2 separate regions of the Homo sapiens genome follow, and region 2 is linked to region 1. Evidence: promoter capture Hi-C in human tissues and cell types (Jung and others, 2019). All regions are on one chromosome and are shown on one strand. The core of a region is centred on a gene start or on the middle of the fragment in contact, and the rest is flanking DNA. Distances in the headings are between cores, read along the strand shown. Region 1 holds the start of BMP8A (bone morphogenetic protein 8a). Region 2 overlaps LINC02811 (long intergenic non-protein coding RNA 2811).

Region 1 (2,700 bases), core at 1-2,500:
AGGCCACAGTCCCTGCCCCAGCGAGCTGAGTCTGCTCCTTCCCCAGCCGCTCCCCTGACAGCCGCACCCCACCCAGGCTCCGCACAGGGAAGAGCCTGCTGTGGACTCAGGGCACGCGACTCAGCTCTGGTCACTCCGATGATGTGACCACAGGTTTCCACGCTGAACTTTGTCCCTCTCCTCAGTACTGTCCTTATCACAGTGACAGCATCCCGGCCTCTGTTTACTCACCTGTCTCCCCAGGACCAGGCTGTCTTCCCGGGGCAGCCCAGGTGGGCAAAGACATCACCTAATTCTTACTCCTGGGTGTGTCTGGGGCAGGGTGAAGGCAGCGCCTGGGAGTCCACAGTCCCCCACACTCTGCTCCTGACCACCCCGCAGCCCAGGGGGCCCCCATGACCCTTAGACCTTCCCTAACCACGGCGGTCCCACTCCCCTGTGGTTCGCGTCCACCGTCTGTGATTCCCCGTTCGGCCAGGGCCCGGCACCGCCCGCGGATGCGCGCCCCTCCCCTGCAGCCAGCTTACTCCGAGGGTCCCCGCGCGGGCGGCCGCACTCACCCATGTTGACGAAGCTCATGACCAGGTCGGCGCGGCCCAGGCGCTGCTCCGCGGGCGCGCCGTCCTCGTCGTCGTCGCCAGCCATGGCGTGGTACAGGTCCAGCATGAAGAGCGGCGCGGACGCGGGCAGCCGGGAGGCGGCGGGTGGCGCGCGGGGCCGGGGCCGCCCGGGTAGCCCGAGCACCGCCAGGATCTCGCGCTGCACGTCCCGGCGCTCGCGCGCGCCCAGACGTCGCTGGGGACAGCCGGGCGGGGGTCGCAGGCCGGGGCCGCCCCCGCCCAGCGCGCACAACGTCAGGCCCAGAAGCCAGAGCGGTCCGGGGCGCGCGGCCATGGCGGGCCGGGGGCGCTCAGCGGGCGCACATCAGCTCCGCCGCCGCCCCTGGGCCCGGGGACGCCCCGACGGCGAACGGGGAGCTGAGTTCGGCGAGCAGGGGGCGGGGCTCGGCGGGCGGCGTCTGCGGCCTCAGCGCGGTCCCTGGAGCGCCCCCCGCGCGCACCTGCCCCGGCTCCGGGACAAGCGGACGCTGACGCGGACGCAGACGCCAACGCTTCGAGGCCGGGGCTGTTCTGAGGGCTGGGACTGTCAGCCAATCCGTCTGTCGCCGCCGTTCCCACCAGTCCGGCTGTGGCTGCGGTCCGCGCAGCGCAGGGGCGACCGGCGAGCTCCGGCAGCGACCCGGGCGGCGCGATTCCCGCGAGTCCTTGCCCCGGCTCAGCCGTCTGTGCCGCCCGCCCACCCCCGGGACTGACCAATGGGGGCGCGGGGGCGGGGCCTGGGCGCGGAGGCCGCGCCCGCTAGGAGCCCCGGGCGGCGGCAGGTGTTGCGGGTGGGGCGACCCCGAGGTGCGACCTCGGCGTGGCTGGCGGTTGGTCCGGGCGAGGAGCCCGCAGCCTGGGCGTCAGCGTGGTCAGGGCCGTCGTGGCTCCCGCCGCGGGCCTCGGCGCAGAGATCCTAAGGCCGCGGCGCCGTCCCGGTCCCGCCAGTGGTGCCACCCGGCTGCCTCGCCGTGGTGTGCCGTGGTCGCCACCGGGCCCGACACGCGGCCGTAGCCCCGTCTGGAGAGCCGGGCGGTGCCAGCCAAGCCCCGCGGGTGGGGCCTGTTCCTCTGCCCGCAGCAGCCGGCCCGGGTTCCGGCCACCGCGGCCCCTCACCGCCTCCTGGCGCCTTCCCCGTGGCCCCTGCATGCGCTTCTGCGGGCGCCTCCTTCTCGGCACCTGCTCGGCTGCTTCTCCCTGCGTCCCCCACCTGGCTCCCGCGTGAGCCCAGGCAGCGCCCCAGTCGGGCCGCCCCCGCCAGCCCTAGCTGTGCGCCCTGCGTCCCCGGTACTGATCCAGCTTTGCGGAGGAGGCTCCGCCTCCTGCCTCCAGCTGGGCCAGAAGCTCTGGGGCCCTTCCCGAGCACTCGGGAGCCACCTGTGCACATCTTCTCAGTCCCCACGGCCCCGGTGCAGGCCTGCCAAGAGAAGGATCCCCGCGGAAACGTCTCGACTGACTCAGTCCCTTTCTGCACACCTGCTCTTCCCTGGGCGCGCTCTCGCCTTACTTATTCCTGTGTGGTTCAGGCGCTGCGGAAGGAGAAGGCACCTAGACTGCACTGGGAAGGCTCCTGGAGTTGACCTGGAGCGCCAGGAAAGGTCAGTGGAGGAAAGTGCTCCAGGCAGAGGGAATAGCTTGTGCCAAGGCCCTGAGACCCCGGCTGGGGAGCCTAATAATGGCAACAGTCAGCACTTGCCACGCCAAGGCATGTTCTGAGTGTGTGTCTCGTGTCATTTCTGTGATGCTCGCACATCGTTAGGGGGTACATACCACTGGAACCTCCTCTTTTAATAAATGAGGAAACTGAGGCACACGGCGGTTAAGGGACTTACGCCAGGTCACACAGCAGTGGAGCTGCGCTCGGGCAGGGGGGCAGTGGAAACTGGAGAGCCCAGGGGGCAAACGGCGGAGGCTGGAGGGGCTGGCAAGGGAGGCACCGCAAAGGGCCTCACAGGGGCTAGACGAGGGCCCTGGGCACCAGAGATTATGGTGCCCCGCCATGTGGATTGAAGATTAAACCTCGAAGCAAGTGTATAATGCCCCCAAAAATCACATTTGGAAGTCATCACTTCAATAAAATTTTCTACAACAAATTCTTAAT
Region 2 (2,700 bases), core at 172-2,671, 310 kb before region 1:
GGATGGAATTCTGAGCACAGAAGGAACATCTTTCAGCAGTGAGAAGGAAAGGAGGATTAGGCAGCTATAACATTAGGTGATCTGCTGAGAGCGAGGAGCTAGAAGGGAAGCTTGAAGTCTGAGGACAGTGCAACTAAACATCAAAATGCACTGGAATTGTCTAACGGCATTGAGGTTGGTGACTGAATTTATAGTGTTACTTACACCCCCAGTAGTTCTTAAAAAATGCTTCCTGGCCTGGCTGTAAGCATAAAGGAGAGGCATAGTTAGGTTCACCTAGAGTTTGGAGGGTTTGTTTTGTTTTGTTTCTTGAAACAGAGTCAGGCTGGGCACGGTTGCTCATGCCTGTAATCCCAGCACTTTGGGAGGCCGAGGCGGGCGGATCATGAGGTCAGGAGATCGAGAGCATCCTGGCTAATGCAGTGAAACCCCGTCTGTAATAAAAATACAAAAAATTAGCCGGGCGAGGTGGCGGGTGCCTGTAGTCCCAGCTACTCCGGAGGCTGAGGCAGGAGAATGGCGTGAACCTGGGAGGCGGAGCTTGCAGTGAACCGAAATCGCACCACTGCATTCCAGTCTGGGTGACAGAGCAAGACCCCGTCTCAAAAAAAAAAAAAAAAAAATAGAAACAGTCTCGCTCTGTTGTCCAGGCTGGAATGCAGTGGTGCAATCATAGCTCACTGCAGCCTCGATCTCCAGGGCTCCAGAAATCCTCCCACCTCAGCCTCCTGAGTAGCTGGGACTACAGGTTCACACCACTATACCTGGCTATTTTTTTTTTCCCCAGTACAGTCAAGGTCTCTTTGTGTTGCTCAGGCGGCCTCGAACTCCTGAGTTCAAGTGATCCTCCCGCGTTGGCCTCGGTGCTGGGATTACAGGCGTGAGCCACCATGCCTGAACATGTTTGGAGTTTTGATAGGTTGGTGCTGAGGACAAAGGGAGAGCCAAGGATTTTAGGATGTTTGCAAGGAAGTGATTGAAATGATGGAACATGACATTTAAGCTGGTTAAAGAGGAAAATGGAGGCAGAAATGAGTTGATGGATAGGCAGAAATTGAAGGAGGTCTTGAGGAGGCCTAGAAAGAGAAGTGGCTTGATTGGTGGAGCAAGCAAGCAGGAAAGACATGAATTTGTGGGCCCAACGGTAGTCCGGGGCTTTGACTAGTTGCAGAGGGTTGTCAGGGACATCGGGGCACGGTGAAGTGGGGAAGGACGGCATTGTGATGGGGAGATAAGGAACTGAAAAGCCGGGGGTAGGAGGGGCAGAGCCATGGACAATGGTCCTGGACCTTTCTTTGTAGATTAAAACTTTTCAGATGATCTTGGCAGCACTTGTGTGGGGAATGTGTGGAAGAACAAGATTTCACGTTTTGTTTATATTAAAATTTTGGAGACTCATGTTCACCCTGGAGTGGACACTTTTTTTTTTTTTTTTTTGAGACAGGCCCTTGCCCAGGTTGGCGTGCAATGGCGCGATCTCGGCTCACTGCAACCTCGGCCTCCCGGGTTCAAGTGATTCTCCTGCCTCAGCCTCTCAAGTAGCTGGGATTACAGATGTGCACTACCACGCCCAGCTAATTTTTGTATTATTAGTAGAGATGGAGTTTCACCATGTTGGCCAGGCTGGTCTCAAACTCCTGACCTCAGGTGATCCACCCGCCTCGGCCTCCCAAAGTGCTGGGATTACAGGCGTGAGCCACCGCGCCCGGCTGGAGTGGACACTTAACATTTAAATGTATTACAATTATGAGGCCAGGCGCAGTGGCTCACGCCTGTAATCCCAGTACTTTGGGGAGGCTGAGGCAGGTAGATCACTTGAGGTCGGGAGTTTGAGGCCAGCCTGGCTAACATGGCAAAACCCTGTCTCTATTAAAAATACAAAAACTAGCTGGGTGTGGTGGCACGCATCTGTAATCCCAGCTACTCAGGAGGCTGAGGCATGAGAATTGCTTGAACCCAGGAGGCAAAGGTTGTAGTGAGGCGAGATTGTGCCACTGCACTCCAGCCTGGGCAACAGCGAGACTCCATCTCAAAAATAATAATCATAATAAATAAATAAATATATTACAATTAGGCCCTAGATGTCAAAAGGTCTTTTCAGGACACAAAAGCGCTCAAGTGCACAGCCTCTGTAAACTGGCCAGAACCAGTCCGTGGTCGGTGGTCTTACTATCAGGAGAAAATTATTGATATCAGTCTCTTGTCCAGTCCAAGCTGTAGTTATGGCTTATGGAAACAGTGGTCAGTTAGTGGATGTGCTGCAATTATTTTCATATTGCTTATCTCAAGGCCAGTGCTTATTGTTCTGCTAGAGAAAACGAAAAACCTTGTGGCTGTTAGAACTTAGTTTATTCTTTAAGTGTAGGGGTGGGTGACTTAACCCTTGCCTGGCCTGGCCTGTATCTTTTTTTTTTTTTTTTTTTAGATGGAATCTCACTCTGTTGCCCAGGCTGGAGTGCAATGGCGTGATCTTGGCTCACCGCAACCTTCGCCTCCCAGGTTCAAGTGATCTTCCTGCCTCAGCCTCCCAAGTAGCTGGGATTACAGATGTGCACTACCATGCCCGGCTAATTTTTGTATTTTTAGTAGAGACAGGGTTTTGCCATGTTGGCCAGGCTGGTCTCAAACTCCTGACCTCAAGTGATCTGCCCGCCTCAGCCTCCCCAAAGTGCTGGGATTACAGGCGTGAGCCACCGCGCC

The links. The method cuts DNA at HindIII sites, captures the fragments that hold promoters and counts their contacts. A contact is called where the count stands out against the background at its distance.
Region 2: a contact is called between a fragment that was not itself captured here and the fragment with the promoter of BMP8A in region 1, in 1 of the 25 tissues and cell types used here (neural progenitor cells).

Annotation. Positions count from the first base shown.
Region 1 is chr1:39,490,186-39,492,885 of GRCh38, reverse strand. BMP8A (bone morphogenetic protein 8a) reads right to left here and starts at 1,250. Exons shown (of 7, transcript NM_181809.4): 1 at 561-1,250. The coding sequence starts at 894. LOC124904101 (a long non-coding RNA gene) reads left to right here and starts at 1,338. Exons shown (of 2, transcript XR_007065978.1): 1 at 1,338-2,197. RefSeq lists silencers at 922-1,021, 1,122-1,751. The HindIII fragment of the contact is 32,682 bases long and covers 1-2,700 here.
Region 2 is chr1:39,801,210-39,803,909 of GRCh38, reverse strand. LINC02811 (long intergenic non-protein coding RNA 2811) reads left to right here. Exons shown (of 4, transcript NR_186710.1): 4 at 2,426-2,496. All of the region lies in intron 1 of LOC130932201 (a long non-coding RNA gene), which reads right to left. Among named protein-coding and RNA genes, the nearest start is that of BMP8B, 14 kb to the right of the region's middle. The HindIII fragment of the contact is 4,619 bases long and covers 1-2,700 here.